Regions from separate parts of the Homo sapiens genome. Here regions 2, 3, 4 and 5 are each linked to region 1. The links are contacts of gene promoters, found by promoter capture Hi-C in human tissues and cell types (Jung and others, 2019). All regions are on one chromosome and are shown on one strand. The core of a region is centred on a gene start or on the middle of the fragment in contact, and the rest is flanking DNA. Distances in the headings are between cores, read along the strand shown.

The links. The method cuts DNA at HindIII sites, captures the fragments that hold promoters and counts their contacts. A contact is called where the count stands out against the background at its distance.
Region 2: a contact is called between a fragment that was not itself captured here and the fragment with the promoter of NECAB1 in region 1, in 2 of the 25 tissues and cell types used here (aorta and spleen).
Region 3: a fragment that was not itself captured here is called in contact with the fragment with the promoter of NECAB1 in region 1 in 6 of the 25 tissues and cell types used here (H1 embryonic stem cells, dorsolateral prefrontal cortex, heart left ventricle and 3 more).
Region 4: a contact is called between a fragment that was not itself captured here and the fragment with the promoter of NECAB1 in region 1, in 2 of the 25 tissues and cell types used here (mesendoderm cells and thymus).
Region 5: a contact is called between a fragment that was not itself captured here and the fragment with the promoter of NECAB1 in region 1, in 3 of the 25 tissues and cell types used here (dorsolateral prefrontal cortex, hippocampus and liver).

What each region holds. Positions count from the first base shown.
Region 1 is chr8:90,790,256-90,793,783 of GRCh38, forward strand. It overlaps NECAB1 (N-terminal EF-hand calcium binding protein 1), which reads left to right and starts at 1,520. Exons shown (of 13, transcript NM_022351.5): 1 at 1,520-1,730. The coding sequence starts at 1,632. It overlaps LOC105375633 (a long non-coding RNA gene), which reads right to left and starts at 1,913. Exons shown (of 4, transcript XR_928389.4): 1 at 1,183-1,913. The HindIII fragment of the contact is 16,269 bases long and covers 1-3,528 here.
Region 2 is chr8:90,566,583-90,570,110 of GRCh38, forward strand. No RefSeq gene overlaps it. Among named protein-coding and RNA genes, the nearest start is that of LINC01030, 38 kb to the right of the region's middle. RefSeq lists an enhancer at 2,516-3,017. The HindIII fragment of the contact is 3,391 bases long and covers 207-3,528 here.
Region 3 is chr8:90,950,768-90,954,295 of GRCh38, forward strand. NECAB1 (N-terminal EF-hand calcium binding protein 1) reads left to right here. Exons shown (of 13, transcript NM_022351.5): 12 at 346-437. It overlaps LOC105375634 (a long non-coding RNA gene), which reads right to left and starts at 350. Exons shown (of 3, transcript XR_928396.3): 1 at 1-350. The HindIII fragment of the contact is 5,493 bases long and covers 1-3,528 here.
Region 4 is chr8:90,637,408-90,640,935 of GRCh38, forward strand. All of the region lies in intron 1 of TMEM64 (transmembrane protein 64), which reads right to left. Among named protein-coding and RNA genes, the nearest start is that of TMEM64, 6.9 kb to the right of the region's middle. The HindIII fragment of the contact is 3,462 bases long and covers 172-3,528 here.
Region 5 is chr8:90,933,168-90,936,695 of GRCh38, forward strand. It overlaps NECAB1 (N-terminal EF-hand calcium binding protein 1), which reads left to right. Exons shown (of 13, transcript NM_022351.5): 9 at 1,137-1,190. All of the region lies in intron 1 of LOC105375634 (a long non-coding RNA gene), which reads right to left. Among named protein-coding and RNA genes, the nearest start is that of C8orf88, 50 kb to the right of the region's middle. The HindIII fragment of the contact is 3,943 bases long and covers 1-3,528 here.

The DNA.
Region 1 (3,528 bases), core at 270-2,769:
TTGAGAGCAAGTGCCTCCTTACATTCTGTGCTCAAGTGGCCCCACTTGCCACACCCTAGTCCTGAGCCTACTACATAGCAACTGTGTATGAATCATTAGGGTGAGGGGGACTTGGATTTCTGGACTAGACAGTACTTTAGTATTGGGATTTGGAAAGCCCAGGTAGGATCTGGGATTCTGTATGTTTATAGGAATCCCCAGTGGACTACTTCCAGCTTCCACGTGCTTTCCTGGTGCCATGCTTTGCTTACGCTGTTCCTTCTGCCTGGAAGTGTTTTCCTTCTATTTCTATCAAGCATGGAGTATCCACTGATTTTTAAGGTCCATTTCATATACCGCTTCTTTCATCAAGCTTTTATTGGTCCCCCCAGCCAGAGTGTAACCTGTCTCTCCTGAGAAACCCCTAGCATGTTTTACATGCCTTTAAGACACTCACATGTTGATCAGCATTTTGGTTGTGTGTGGGCCTGTCTTATAGGAAGAATATGTTTACTTTTCTCCAAAGGCCACAAAATGGAGATCTGGATCCTCCTCACCCGTTCTCACTGGTAGAGGCAGAGTCTTGTTTAGACAAGGTTCCCTCTTTTTTGCCTTATCTCGCTCCCAGATAGCTCAAGTTTGTAACCAACACATACACATTTTAGATGCCCAATAAACTGGATCTCTCTCCTGATGAAAGGTGTGGTCAGTTTCCTATTTTTACAGCCTTCGCAGAAGCCGTCAAATATTGAATAATTACCCTGGTTTAAATGCTTAAACACAGATAAGGACTTCGTCTTGTGACTTTGGGAAACTTCATATTTGAACATTACCTAACAATCCTTGCCCCATAGCAAACGTTTCGAAGCCTACTCTAGGCAGAGTTCATAGCACCGCCTTTGTCAGCAGCACTGCCATAGGTAAGCCTCAGAACCCTCTGGGGTGAGACCGGTGTAACCATTTTACTGATGAGGAAAAGTGAGGCTTACAGGTTAAGTCCTTCGAGCGCAAGATAACACCGAATGGCTTAATCCCTACACCAAACCAGCTGCTCCTCGATTGCTGGTATTCGTGAACCCTGCCCCCGCCTTTGGGGAAGGTCGGGCAGACAGGCCACTGGGACCAAAAGCAGAGTAGGTAGAACCTCTCTGAGTTCCTCCCTATTTATGGCATCCACTCAGGTGAGGCTGGGGGCGTCCTTACCTTGCGCTTTGGCTGCTCAGGACAAACGCCCTGCCATTCGTCCCTTCTCTCTGTCCGGACGCCCTCCTCCATCCCTGCACTTGGGGCCGTCGTGGGGCTGGTAGGGGTCCCCAGGCTATCTCCAGCCGTGGCCGATGGCCGTGCCGGGGGCAGAGCCCGCTCCCCTCCGCGCGTTGCTACGTGCGGGGATGACATGGATCCAGACGCCGTCAACTACGGGAAGGAGGAGGCGAGAGTTGGAGCGCGTGGGAGCGCAGAGGCCGGAGGAGGGAGGGGGGGACACCGAGCGCGGAGAGCGCGGAGAGCGCGGAGGGAGGCGCGCGCGGGAGCGAACACCCTCCCGGATCCAGAGCCCGGCGGCGGCGAAGCAGCAGCTGCGGCCGCGCCCTTGCCAGAGCCGGTGCGTCCGCCTAGCCCCGCTCCGCCTGAGGCCGTCAGGGCTCCCGAGGATGGAAGATTCCCAGGAGACATCGCCGTCCTCCAACAACTCCTCGGAGGAGCTCAGCTCTGCTCTGCACCTGTCCAAGGGCATGTCGATCTTCCTCGACGTAAGTACAGATGGTGGGAGCTGGGCGGTTGCTTCCCAGCACCTTTCTTTTCCCCGAAAGGAAGGGGTTCGGCTCAGGTGCTGACCAGCCAATGCTTTGTCCCCAGAACACAGGCGAGAACTACCGATGCAAATGCAGGAGGAACGACTGTCCCTTAACTTGCAGCTAGGGCTGTCCCAGACCTGCAGCTTGTGGCTTAACACCCTTAAGAAAACTGCAAAAGTTAGATTTTCCAACAGGCTGGGTTTCGTAGAGACACTATTGCAAATACAACAGACAACATTTGAGTGCATAGGACATTTTAAAGAGGCACAAGGTGTGGGGGGTGAGGTGGGGACAGTGTCCCAACTCATCTCTCTAACGCGCCCTATTCGCAGCCTTCACACTCGTGGATGCTCTCAAGCAACCCAGCCAGGGAAGCAGCAGCGATTGAGATGCCCTCGTTATCCTCCCCCAGACCCCCTCGGAAAACAATTACTTTGAGCATATTTGTTTTTCTTTTTACAGCGGTGGGAAATATCATTTTCATAATGATTCTTTTTGTCACTGCCACCTCTTCTATTTTCCCTTTTTCTTCCCTGATATTCTCCTTCTCTCCAAGTTCTAATTACTACTGTCACCTCCATGAATTCTAGCTTTTGACTATTTTCCCTTTGGTCCAATTTCTCACTTCGGTATCGACTGCCTGCCTTCATTACTCTGATCTGATTACATCCTTTCTTTTCCTTCTGTGCTGTTTCTTTTTCCCGTATGGTGTGGTTTCTATCTTTACAGCACTTTTATTTCTTATTTATTTCTCAATTTTGTTTTCCTCTCCTGCCTGCTGTTTCTGTTTTCTCTATTTTTCCGTCTGTTGCCTATCTCTTCTCTCTGCTTTGGGGTTTCTCTCAGCTGCTTGCCGGGCTCCAGGCTCTCCCAGCCCCTCAGTTGTCACATTCATGCTGTTGCCGGAGGTCGTGTCTATCTCAGTGGGGACAATTCTGTCTGCTTCTTGTTTAGGCATGATAGAAAATGTCAAAGGACATGGAGGAGTGCTACGTGCTCTGTCCTTTACCCTTCTCTGAGTTATCTTTTCTTATTAAAGTCAAAATGAGTGGGAGATGGGCCAGAAGCCAGATACATTTGTTTGTGGAGAGATGAAAATATGAGGAAATCAATTAGTATCATAATGGTGAGGCAGAGATAAAGAGGATAGGAGGATGTGAGGCGCTCTCCCAAGTTTATTTTGAATGGATTGGCTAGAATTCTTTTTAATTCTAGGGAAAGAAACTCCTATCAATAATTCAAACTGTTGTAAGGCAAATGATAGAAGTGAGGTTCAACTGTGTGTACTGGCAGCCTTCACCCTTTATCACCTGGTGGCTCCAATTGGTGATCCAGGCATTCTGGGCTGGTCATCTCCTTCCCACCAAATCTCAGGTGTGGTCATTCCTATTCAGCCACCCAATCAGGTGGTTAAGTACCTTATCCTTCATGAGCATTTATCTCTGCCTGGCTTGGGTCAGTCAGATGGTATTATTGGTGCTCATGGCTTAACGGGCTGATCTTATTCAAGTTTTGCTGTTCAGGGCCATAAAGCACTTGAGGAGGTAAGCTGAGAAAAGAGAAGGGCACCACAACATGCCTGAAAAGTCAGGGCCCCTGGAAATCATGTCAGTTATGAGGCTGACAATTAAGGGGCCATGGAGTTGATTCAAAGGGGACAAGTGGGGCCTCCATTCATTCTGACCTGATCTTCACTCTGTCCCCCATTGAGATCAAGTGCTTCCCTGTGCTTTTTAAAAAGCACTTAACAAAC
Region 2 (3,528 bases), core at 652-3,151, 220 kb before region 1:
CCTGTGGGACGGTAGGTTTTATGCCTTAACAGAGGCCACATCAGTGTGCCCTCTGCCCAAATAGCCCTCTTCCCATCACTTGATGGGATGACATTGGCTAGGGCATGACCAATGGAAGAAGGCCATTTTACCTTCTTCCCATGTTGCTCACACACTTAAATGTTCAGGGCTTTTCTGTGCTCTCAAGGCCACACTCCTCAACCAAATAAGAAAGAACTCACATGATGGGATGACACTGAGTAGGGTACTGTCTAACTCATTGCTCACCTCTTAGAATGGAAGGACAACACATTCAGTTGTTGCTAATGCCTTAGAATGAATATGTTTGTTAGGTGGCTCTTTTGGGGCTAGTTCAAAAAGGCCACTGACAAGAATGGGAGGAGACTAGATCGGTCATGTTGGGGAATAAAGGGTGAGATGAAGGATCCATGAAAGAGCCATACATGTGGATTACCTGGGAGAGCCCATGAAGACCCTGGTACCTGGAGAGTGGAGTGGGCAAGAAATAAAAGGGCAATTCAGAAGGGAGAGTGGTAGCCTGAACAGAAACTTCCAAACTGTAATAATCAAGGATTCGGAGAAAGCTTAATATGGGGATCTCCAGAGACTGAATTTGCAGAACAAGTGAAGCAGCACAGGGGCTGCCGTTGGTGAACATTCTAACCTTGGTCACCCAGTTAATGTGCTATAGCTTCTGGGGAATACACTTGTCGTAACTGCCACCAAATAGTGAGGTTTTCCTTGAGTAATGAGAAGAAAAATGCATTCACTACCTCAATTCAGTACACAAAGCCCGCAAAGGATAGTTTTACAGGGTTTTAATATCTTCCTGAGCTTTTTAATGAGGGAAACCAAGCACGTCATATCTGCTTTGCTGAAACTTTAAGATTAATGTGGCTGAGTGCAGTGGCTCACGCTTGTAATCCCAGCACTTTGGGAGGCCTAGTCAGGTGGATCACCTGAGGTCAGGAGCTCGAGACCAGCCTGGCCAGCATGGTGAAACCACATCTCTACTAAAAATACAAACATTAGCCAGGTTTGGTAGTGGGTGCCTGTAATCCCAGCTACTTGGGAGGCTGAGGCAGGAGAATTGCTTGAACCCAGGAGGTGGAGGTTGCATGAGCCAAAGTCGTGCCTCTGCACTCCAGCCTGGGCAACACAGCGAGACTCCATTTCAAAACAACAACAACAAAAAAAAAAAAAGATTAATGTACAAGAAGTAAAATATGTGGTAAAAAATAAGTTGTCCGTATTCAATACTTGTAAAAGCAAACTTTGCAAGTTGTGCTTCTAATTCATTCATGACAAAAAAGCTCCACCAAGCTTCCATTCAGCACTGGCAAACACTGCATCAACACTCCCCCTCCCTTATTCCAGACAGACATTAACACGTTGTCCACAGTCTCTTACACAGCTGAAATCTTTATCATCTTATATCTCAATGCTGTGCTGCAGGAAGCCATGAAAAATTAATCGGGACTGGTATCCCAGGTGGAGCTTGTGTGAACCTGGTAACTTAATCCCTGCCATGTACTAGGAGAACCCAGGTTATGTAAAATCATGCCATTGCATAAGTTTGTCTTTTCTGTCCTGGTCACTGGCCATTTTGCCTTCTTCCCATGTTGCTCACACACTTAAATGTTAGGGCTTTTCTGTGCTCTCAAGGCCACATTCCTCAACCAAATAAGAAAGAACTCACATGTTTCTGATCATTTATTGACTAATTATAGATAACTATAGATAGTTCTTAAAGGGGTCAGTTGGTGGTACTGTCAATGTTTCCTTCCTCCCAAATGTTTCTTTGATTTTCCTAAGGATGAATTAGCTGCCCTGCTTCCAAGCATAACAAGAAATGTAAGTGCATTTCTACTAAAAGTAAATCTTTCTCTCACAGTGTCCAGCATTGTGGGATCTCTGTTAATCGCTGTTTATATGTGAGCCTTTAAAGAATGAACATAATGTCAGTTTTGCCTGGGGTAAATTCTTTTATTCCTTATTCAGTTTTCTTACCCAGAAGATTTCCCATCTGAATCACTTTTACCTGGTTTGTTTGACTGGCACGTGGATCCACTTATTGAGATTCCAACTCAAGCTCATTTGGAAAAAAAACTAGAGACTGCACATTTTGAAACAGAAATTCTCCAGGACCTGATCCTGGCATCTTCCATGTCTCTCTAAGGTCTAGAAAGCACACCTGCTTTCACTGATTCTGATAGAGGCCTCTGCTGATTTTCAAAAGGGTCATATGAGAATTCTGAGAGTTCTGCACAACTTAAGATGCCTCTTGGGAGAACTAGCAAGACTAGGAGACAGACCCTTTCCCCATGCTGTGCTTATAGGGTTACCTGACAACAAAGGTTTGCTCCCTACCCCTCAAAATACCATGCACTTTTCTGACTCAGCTTTGAGTCACACTACTGAAGGGTGGCAGGCTATGCCACCCCCAAATATGCCACTTTGACATAAGGATCACTTCAAGCCAGAGGCACTTGAAAAAGAGCAGATTCAAGAAGATTACATGTATTCTAATCTTCCCTTTCTTTTCCCTGAAGGTAGGAGATAAAAACTATCATGTGGAAGATGCCCTCCCTGTGCCAAGAGAAAAGAAACATTCTTCCATGAAGACTCATAGCCGAGATAATTCCGTATAAACAGACCTTGTTAAAAGAATTATCTCCCTTTGGCCTCCCCACAAAATTTAGATACTTTTCCACAATTGCCTCTTTACAAAATCATGTAAGCCTTGCTTTTTTTTTTATCTTCATTTTCTCATGAGGGCTCCTGTGTCATGTAAAATATGTTAAATTTATACGCTTTTCTCTTGTTAATTTATCTTACGTCAATTTAATTCTCAAGCCCAGCAGAGACCCTAGAAGGGCAGAGGTAAATTTTTGCCTGCACTACACTATTGATCCCAAAACACACACACAGAGAGAGAGAGAGAGAAAGAGAGAGAGAGAAACTCTCTTCCTATTCTGTGCCAGTGAAATTCTGCCATCAGCAAATATATCTTTTCTGACTTTGAAAATACTGATGACAGTGGAGATTAAAATCCTACCAAGGCTGCTGCAGAATCAATGACACATGAGGTGGCCAGGCATGGTGGCTCACGACTGTAATCCCAGCACTTTGGGAGGCCAAGGTGGGTGGATCCCCTGAAGCCAAGAGTTCAAGACCAGCCAGGCTAACATGGTGAAACTCCATCTCTACTAAAAATACAAAAAATTAGCCGGGTGTGGTGGCACATGCCTGTAATCCCAGCTACTCAGGAGGCAGAGAGAGGAGAATTGCCTGAGCCCAGAAGGTGGAGGTTGCAGTGAGCCGAGATCATGCCACTGCACTCCAGCCTGGGTAACAGAGTGAGACTCCGTCTCAAAAAAAAAAACAAAAAACAAAAAACAAAAAAAAAACACATGAAGCTTTACCAGAAGATTTCAGTATGTCCTCCAGTGCGTAATTCATTTGTTCAACAATTTTTACTGGGCAGGCATTCTAATAGATGTTGAGGATATCACAATAAATAAGGCA
Region 3 (3,528 bases), core at 758-3,257, 160 kb after region 1:
ATTTTTATTATCTAGAAATGTAAAATATACAGTCTGTCTTATTATCTATCTTGTTTTTAAACAAGATATATTTAAATTTGGTGCAATAAAATCTACTTTTTATCCTCTAAAAAAGTAATGTTCTCCTGGTTTAAAACCTTTTTAAAAAAGTTTCTGATGACAATTATTAAATTACTCCTGAGTCATTTTTGAAAGCTGAACAACCATTAAAAGAAGCTTGTATCCAGGAGCTTATTTAATCCAAATCATCCCAAACTTTGCCATCTTGATCAAATTTGATCTCTGCTGTACTTGGGAAGATTGTAAATAAAAATGCACAGCCTTAACCTATAATTATTTATACAGCCACCTTCAGACAAATTATAGCAAGACATTCCAAAGAAGTAATGTGGATTTCTTGGAAACTCCAGAACTCACATCTACAATGCTAGTTCCTGGTAATTATCCTGGGTTTACAATGCTTCTGTGTCCTTTTGTATTTTTGTTTGTTTGTTTCGTAAAAGATAGTATGCTCTTTCCTTCTATATTTTATCAATGGTACTCTCTTATTTATTTCTTTATATATTTTATGATTTGAGATTGGGGGGAAGAAATAAAAGATCTATATATTTGTTCTATTTTGTCCTTAGTTGACCCTATTTGTATTCCCAGCTATACTGAACCATTAGTCATTTGCTAATCATATTAACAAACTTGAAGTACCACCAAATCATATTTCAAAAAATTATTCAAATATTTTATCATATTGTAATTTAGTGTACTGGATACAATTTGTTCATCTACCCATCCAATTACTGATTAAATATATATTTACTGAGTATTAATATGTGCTAGGCATCAGGGTGTTTAGCCTAATTTACTGGTACTGATTGAGCTCCATTTCTGAACAAGCACTGTGTTGGGAGCTACAAAGGGTACAAACTAAAGGCAAAATCCCTACCCATAAAGTGCTTTCTGTCCAGCTTCACAGAAACGTTTGCAAAGACAAATTTTAGCAGAAAAAAAAAACCCAGCTAAGGGAATAAAATAGCTGTCACCATTAGAGATAATATGTGTTTTGTGGACTTGGAGAAGTGATTACTTCTTTAATAGTTTTTAAGAAAATGACTTGAGCTAGTCCTTAAAAGATGAGATGTGGAAAAGTAAAGATGGAGAGGAAGGGTCCTTTGGTAAATTTGGACATGAACAAATGCAAGAAGTGTGAATGTGCTTTATAGGTGCAAAGGTGTCACTAAGGCATAAAACTTACAGTACAAGTGGAGACAGACGAGAGAGTAAGAAGTGAGGTTGAGAATGTCATAATGAGGCTTTTGAACAGCAACCTGGAGTAATTTAAAGTTTTGAAAGGGATGGTGACATGTTCTAATCAGTAATAACTGACAGGAGGGAGAAAGGTGGATGTCATGGAGAGGAGAGAGATTAACCAATTAGGGCAATAATCTAGGCCAGGGAAGAAAAAAAAAAAAACCTGCACCAGGAAATAGCCAGAGTTTGGGACTCCAGTTGCAGATGTAATTTTCAGGAGTTAACCACAGCAAGATGATTGTTGAAGCCTGGGATTGGTAAGAAAGTATGTAGGTAAGAACAAAATATCTAAGAGAAGCTTGGGGAGATGCCTTTCTTTAAGCAGTGGAGTATCAAGGAAACCAAAAGAGTAAAATGCAAAGATACAGTGCTCCTGGGGATGAGTGGGGGATGTATAGTGTTATGATGTTATAAATGGGAGGAAGGCTGGGCGCGGTGGCTCACGCCTGTAATCCCAGCACTTTGGGAGGCTGAGGTGGGCGGATCACAAGGCCAGGAGCTCGAAACCAGCCTGACCAACATGGTGAAACCCCACCTCTACTAAAAATACAAAAAGTAGCTGGGCATGGTGGGGCATGCCTGTAATCCTAGCTGCTCAGGAGGCTGAGGCAGGAGAATTGCTTGAACCCAGGAGGCGGAGGGTTGCAGTGAGCCAAGATCGCACCACTGCACTCCAGACTGGGCGACAGAGCGAGACTCCATGTCAAAAAACAATAATAATAAAATTAAAATAAAATAAAATAAAATAGGGAGAAAAATCTTAGAATACAACTTCTGTAAATATGACTGCTGCAAGCTTTGTACATAGAATGCAGGAAAGTGAGATCCACATTTTATTTATCTTCACATTCCCTACCCTATTACAGTATTACTATAGTACAGTATATGGCAAGAAGAAATTATTTCCTAAATGAAGGAATGAATAGGACTTTGGCATCATCATAAATATATTGGTCTTCGGTCAAAATTTCCACGAAGTCCTGACACTTGTAATTTTTGTGTCTGTCATCACACCCATTTCCATCTCTCCCAAACCAATGTGGAAAGAAAGGAACAAAGCTTGTTCTTATTAGTGTCTTGAGTCTTTCCAGGACAGAAACAACCTGATCAAAAATAGAGTAGGAAAAGAGGATAGAACAGGAGGCTACTGAATTATCAGTGAGGGGGAAAATGCTATAGCAAGAATTGAAAATGTGGACTAATCTGATAGTTTTCTGACCCAACTTTATCATTATCTGGAATTATTTTCTAGACACTACTAGTGTCATTGGCACATATATTACTCTTTCTCTCTCAGAGCATTTCCTAATTTAGAAAGAAAAACTGACTACAGATAAAACTGGATCAATTCTTGTTCTGTGAATCCAGGCTCAATACAATTTAATGTCTTTTAATTGCTGCCCTATTTTGTATTAATTTCATGTTACATTTAATTTCAACAATGATTACTGGAATTTCGTAGAACAAGAGGAAAAGTTAGGCTTGATTTTTGACACAATTTTAAAACCTACAACATTTTGACATTTATTGGGACATCCCACCTTATTTTAAAGTTTTATCACTGTGACAGCAGGCCTATTCCAGTAAGCAGAAGCTAGCATATAAATATTATTTATGGGTTTTAATGGCCATATAACTTCTAACACTATTTTTAAAAACCAGTTTTGTACATTTTGTGTTATAATGGTTATGAAGATTAAAAATAAAAATAATTAGCTGGGCGCTATGGCTCACGCCTGTAATCCCAGCACTTTGGGAGGCGAAGGTGGGCAGATGACCTGAGGACAGGAGATCGAGACCAGTGGCCAATATGGTGAAATCCTCTCTTTACTAAAAAATACAAAAAATTAGCCAGGCATGGTGGTGCATACCTGTAATCCCAGCTACTTGGTAGGCTGATGCAGGAGACTCACTTGAACCTGGGAGGCAGAGGTTGCAGTGAACTGAGTTCGTGCCAGTGCACTCCAGCCTGGGTGACAGAACGAGACTGTCTCAAAATAAATAAATAAATAAATAAATAAATAAATAAATAAATAAATAAATAGCTGCACATATTTATACCTAAAATTAAAATCTGAAAGAAAAAAAGCAGATATTACATTTAAAAATGCAGTATGAATAAGTTTGTATTTCTAATTTTACTCACAAATTATGATTTCTGGTAAGATTGCTTTTTATGGTTAAGACTACTAAGTGGTTTACCTAAGATACATCTAAAGTAAT
Region 4 (3,528 bases), core at 653-3,152, 150 kb before region 1:
AAAAAATATAAAGGTGACCAGTATTCAGAAGACCTCAAATTTTATGTGCAGCTCTGTGAATCTAGCATTAATTTTGGCAAATTATACCTTCCTGTATAGACTTGTTGCTTGGTATTTGGGATGCTGCTTATTAACAAAGTTACTGTTAAAATATTATAAATTCCAATTAAAATACATTTAATTATATTATATATGAAAAAATCATGAATCCCTATAGAAAAAAATCATGAATCCCTATGACTGTTAAGAAAGGATTGGTCAAGAGAAATTAAAATGACCAGTTTGGTCTTTTCATCTAATTAATATTTACTGATAATTTTACTGTACATATCCCCAAAATACTTCCTATTAATATTTCAGAAAAATTGGGGAACAGAGAAAAAGAATTCAGAAGCGGCAACTATTTTTCACTCTCAGAAAATCAAAACTTTAAAAATCAGTTTCAAGAAAAACATTAACTACCTATTCTCTTTCCTTTGCTCCCCAAAATACCTCTTCATCTTTTCTGTGTTCCCAATCTCAGCGGCCCTAGCTGGAGACCTCATCAGTCAGGCACATAGCTAATTCCTTATTTCCCACATTCAATATCTACTACATCTTGTCAACCGCACCTTCTCTGGGGAAATCTATCCACCGTCTGGGCCTATTTCTAATTCAGTCTCCTCTTTGGTCCTGACTACACAGACTACCCCCACTCACTACCTATGGTAACCCTGCAGAAATCTTTTTAAAAAGTGAGCCTAATCCTGCTTAAACTCCCTCCTACTGCCATGAGGTTCTTCAGAGTGCAAAGTGCTTCATGATCTGGCCTCTGAGCATTTCATGCACCCTGTCACACTATGTCCCAGTCACATCAAAATTTTCTCAGTTCCTAGAACACTACTTGCTCCCCTTTCCCTCTGGGCCTTTCTACGTTGTTCCTTCTGGGGAGTACAACAAGCACATCCTTCTTCCCACTCCATTTACTCCGAAAACTCCTACACTGTCTTTCACTACTCAGTCATCAATTACTCTAGGAAACCTTCCCAGATGCCCCAAGTCTTTGTTAAGTGCTTTCAAGTGCTCTGACAGAACACTATACTTCCCTGTCCCCTTTGCACTGGAGAACAACTGAAGGTTTCACCATTTGTTTGCCCCTCAGTCCTTTCCCAGACTATAAATTCTGTGAGGAAAGGGATCTGTCGTTCTTGGTCCTCATTGTGTCCCTAGATCTTAACAAATGCCTACTATATATTAGTTGCTAAATATATGTTTATTGGAGGTTGGATGTATCAACACCAATAATGCTTTATTTATAAATATGGAAACCTAGAATAGTTGCCAGTTTATAAACAAGTTGGAATGCAATGTCCATTTTTAATCGGATTTTCAGAAATTAAGAACACTCTGCCAAACACACAGAAAAAATGTTATAAATGAAAATTAGCTTATTATCAGCAAAACTTACACCATGATTTACCTAGAATGCTATTTCTCCACTGGAATGCTACCACCTCAAGGGAGAGACTTTCTTTTATTCACGGCTACACCTCCAGCATTTAAAACAGCAGCAGGCACATACTAGGCACCTACCAATTATTTACTGAATGAATACTAAAAATATTTCCAGAAACCGCCATGGTGAACCTAATGTCAAGGCTAAGACCCTCTGGTTAGGGTCTCTCAAGCAACCCTGAGAGTACTGAAAAAAGTCTTGCTACTGGAGGAAAAAAAAAAAAAAGAACAAGAAGGCCGCAGCAGTGCTGAGACCCTACCCTAACAGCTAGAGAGGGCTTCAGGGTAAAGAGATTTCTACTGACAGAAATGGTTAGGTCAATGTCTGTCTACAACACAGAAGCATCTTCACATATGCAAGCTTTTTCATGACTTCACTGTCCCTAAATTAGGAACTGCTTTTAATGGTTCCCAAATATCTTAGGGAGAGGTCACCAATTTATTTGAGAATCTGGTGTAACCCCCCTTCCACCCTCCCACCCACATACACACAGAGGCCTTGAATCTTCTCTCAAGGGGGGAAAAATGTATATCTTATTGTACATAATTTCTGGAACACAAGTTGAAAAGCTTTTCTTCATACAGTCTGACATACTATAGGTTTATTATTTGTACTAAAACATGTATCATATGCCTTCTATATATATCTAAGACCCAGTTCTAAGCAGAATAAAAAAGATACAAAGATGGAAAACTACAGCTGACTGTGCAGTCATTAAAAGTCATGTTGTAATACACGTAATAACAAGATGTTCATTACTTCAAGTAAAAGAAGGTCACAAAAATCATTAACTCAATATTATATTAAAATACATATCAATAAAATGCAAAGAGAAAAATAAACACGAAAATGTTAATGATGTTTTTCTTTGTACTTGCTATACTTTTCAAAGTTTTTACAATGAATACATACAGACAGAAAAAACAAACATTGTTAAAACATGTTTTAATAACCTCGTTGCTTTTAAACAAATTTTTTTTAATCTAGGAAGGGTTAATAAAACATACTCTATATACATTAATATAACAGGCTAGAGATATAGATTAGTGAATTGTAAGCCTACATATGACACAAAAACTGCAGAAGCTGATGAGATAACTAAAGAGACACAAAGAGGGGAAAACAGTTTCAAGGAAATAAAGGTCAACTGCATTCAGTGGTATTGTGAGGTCTCAGGATGTGCACTGAGATGACATTACACAACTTGTTCATCCTATCTGACCCTTAAGGGCCAGACTCCAACTCTTTCAAAACACAGACTGTGTCTGCCTTTCTATTTTGCCTGAACTGTACCACTGGCAGCGAATCATTACACTTTAATAGTAAGAAGAAATCATCATTAGATACACTGATACAGTGACAAGTATTATGACCGATCATATCTTTTTTTGAATCTATGGCTCTATCTACAGCACAGAATAAGAATTAAGAAAATAAGAAAACATATTACAGAATAAGAACTCAAGAAAATGAGAAAATGTGTATTTTTATAACACATACTATCACTAAACTGTTAAAAAATAAAAGGTAATGTTACACTGTTGCTCAGAACATTTGTCTTTTTAAAAGCAAACTCTGACCTCATCTGTACCCTCTCATTTTACAAATAAGGAAAACTGAAGGCCAGAATCATTAAATCACTTCGCCAGGGCTACAAAGGAGCTAAGACAGAACCAGAAGACCCCATAGCATAAGCTAAGACTATACTGTATTTGTGGTCTTAGAGTCATTTGCCAAAAACTTTTATTTAGTTGTAATAAATTTCAGTTCAAATATAAACTAAATTAGTAAAAGTAATTTATCTTCTTGATAGCTCAATGCAAACTCAAAGAAAACTTGAGAACAGTTATATCTGCTTAAAGTTATGATGACATCTTTCACTATTATTATTTCAGTCAGTACCAGTTTCACAGCTCCCCGGCTCCCTCCAAAACAAAGAATCTATTTGTTGCTTCAAACCTATGGTGGGCTCATATAAATAACCAAAGTAACTGGCAGTTTGGTAACATTCAATTCTATAAAGCAGTTCCCTA
Region 5 (3,528 bases), core at 467-2,966, 140 kb after region 1:
GAGATTCCTTAAAGAACTAGAAGTAGAACTACCATTTGATCCAGCAATTCCACTACTGGGTATCTACCCAGAGGAAAAGAAGTCATTATACAAAAAAGAACTTGCACACACATGTTTATAGCAGCACAATTTTCAGTTGCAAAAATGTGGAACCAACCCAAATGCCCGCCAATCAATGAGTGGATAAAGAAATTATGGTGTGTATGTACGATGGAATACTACTCAGCCATAAAAAGGAATGAATTAATGGCATTTGTAGCAACCTGGATGGGACTGGAGACTATTATTCCAAGTGAAGTAACTCAGGAATGGACAACCAACCATTCTATATTCTCACTCATAAGTGGGAGCTAAGCTATGAGGATGCAAAGGCATAAGAATGACACAGTAGACTTTGGGGACTCAGGAGAAAAGGGTGGTAGGGAGATGAGGGATAAAAGACTACAAATCGGGTTCAGTGTATACTGTTCAGGTGACGGGTGCACCAACATCTCACAAATCACCACTCAAGAACTTACCTGTACAAGCAAATACCACCTGTTCCCCAAAAACCTATGGAAATAAAAAAAAAAACTTTTTTTTAAGACTTCACGGTCTTTATAGGAGTTCTTCACTTTTAGCAAATGTCAATCGTATTTTCATTTACTCTTTAATTCACTTTCTATTTAATAAAGAAAAATTAACACCAGGGTATAAATGTATTGTAACAATAGACTAATGTTTATAATGATGTCCCAAGAAATGTAGAAATGTGGCAATACTCATTCATAGCAAAATAAAGCAGACTGTTAGGCTTAGTCATTCTGTTTCCTTTTCTTTCGTTTACCTTCCTACCCTTTCCCTCTCTGTTTTAATGTACCTTTCTCTTCCACTTTGCTCTCTAATGGCATTCAAGAAGTAAATTTAAAGCAATACTTTGAACACGTCTAAAACAGCTTCTTACAATTGATAAATAAGTACAAAGAGTCTTTATTGGAACAGCTGAGTTTTAAAAAAATCAGTATTATTTCATCTTTAAGATAATGAAGTTCTTTTGGTTCAATGTTAGCCATGAGAGAACTATGATTTGAATATATGGCATTGTTTTAAATGATATAATTTTTTTTCTTTTCTGCCATTTCTTCCTCTTATTGAAGGATCTCAAACTCGAACCACCAGAAGAAGAAATTATTGAAGGGAATACTAAATCTGTAAGTATTTTTATCAGGTAAAAATGTTAGAAATATATTCTTTAAAAACATAATTTAATTTCTTCAAAAATTAGTTATCTCAATGAAAAATTGAAAAACCAAGTAGTCGTATTTCATTTTATAAGATTCAGTAGTGTTGTTTCTACATTGTGATTTGTGTAAACCTAATACCTACTTCACAGTTTTTGCAAAAGTACCTGGCATGTAATAGGTGCAAAATGAAAATTTTATACATGTATAAATCAATGAGTTATTGAATAATTGAAGGAATATGACTGGCAGAGAAGGGCAACATTTAAGTTGTATCATAAACATTTTGTAAATCCTGCTATGTTGTACACTGGATATACCTGAGCGGAAACCTGGTTCTGTTCATTATTATATTTCCAGCATTTAGCCTAGGGCCAGGCACATTGAAAATGCTCAGAAATAATTTTTCAAAGAATAAATTGATGCAAAAGGGAACATTTGTATCCCTAGGGACAAGATGTCCATCCAGAGTGGCAGCAGTTTTTGGAAACAGAAGAAGAATGGACAAAGGGATCCTAAAAAGTACATTAAGATGCAACAAAAAGAAGTTAGCAAATAATTAAAAGCAGTACATACCAAGCTTTATTATTTACTTTATGTTGAGGCAAACATGCATAGTACATTTTGTTTCAGGAAGTTGGATGTTTATATTTACATTTAGTGAAAATTTGGATTTTAAAATCTTGGGTAACTAGGAGAAAAATCATTTTTTAATCCCTTAGATGTATTATATACTTTATAGATGTCAAAGGATTGGTCACACATTTATATGAAACCAAGGTAGGAAATAACCTTTCATCTCTGAATTGTGCACAAGCACTGACTACATGATAGATGAAGTTGAGACCCACCTATGTGTAAGGCTCCTGCCCATCTGTCCAAACTCATAATCCAAAGGGATTCTTCAGAGGAAGCTTTGTGGGAGTCTCAGAAAAGTTTAATCATGGCTGCTACTGTTAGAATCCTATAGTTATGAATACTTTACCCCGATAAGCTAGATTTGTCACTGCATGTCTAGTGCTTTTATCCCTCCAGAGACAGGGATGTAGTCTGTGTTAATTCCTCAAGACCCCAACATTTTAAAATGGTAGACTTTCATGGGAAAGAGAGGAGAGGGGTGTTGAGCACATATACATACTAAGAATAGCGGATTTGTGCAGTCCCGGAGGCACAGGAATTGTTAACCTTGTGATCATGCATCTGTTATCTTCTCGTAGGTTTGCATAGAGGAAAAACTATACTCCAGACAAAGGAAAAACAAATATAACTTATCTAATGTTGTGAGAGATAATTGCCTATTCTTAAATAATTTTCTAATGTGAGATTATTTTTTCTCTCTAGTTATGAAGAGGAAAAATTGTCTAAGGATTGTTTGTGAAAGGAGGCAGCTATTCCATTTGCAGGTCCCTGAGCAGCCAAAGCCAAGGCCAATTTTAAAAGATCAACACACAAAACATTACTAATTCAGTAGTGCATAGAAGTACTTTAAACAAATAAGACTGAAGAAGGTCATTCAGCTCTCAATATTGTTTAAAAGCAGAAAAGGATATTCCCTATTTCCAGCCATATATAGAGGTATAGCAATTATGCTCTTTGGGAATAGACATAAAAATTTGAATTGGTTTGTTTTTTCAGAAGTAACAATAAGATATTTGTCATTAAAAGTTGTTTTTTTAATTAATGGTAGTAAGTGCATTACTATAAATTCCTGTAAAACCTCCTATATTCAGAATGACCAAAATCATTTTTCACTGTTATTTCATAGCTAGTGCTCTAGTGCTCATAATTCCATCCTACCATGTGTTAAATGATCTATCCTGATGCCCAAAACCAGTTTTAGAATTTATTGAGTAGAGAGGTATTTTCCCTTTTCCATTAGTGAATGCTTGAGAACTTGGAAAAATAAATTCTATGACAGAAAGCAAAGAATAAATTTGTATTACACTTGGTTTTTGAAATGCTAATCTTTACTGATCCTTTGCTATGTGCCAAGTGTTGTACTAAACACATACATAACTCACTTAATCCTCACAATAGCCAGCCAAATGAGGTAGTGCTATCCTCAGACTCATTTTATCAATGAAGAAATTAAGGTTTAAAGGAGTTTACCTACCATAGCTGAACCCCTGCAGTTCAACCCCAGACCTATGCTCATCACCATGCTCTAACATTTTCAGCCTAAGTGTTTAGTGGATTTCTAGCCTGTAAAGTAGAATTGCTCTTTGCTAGCGAGGTTGTGGATGAATGGATGATTGTTTTATGAGATTCCCTACCATAAGAGCAGAGCAGATTGTCTGGCAGGCTTGTT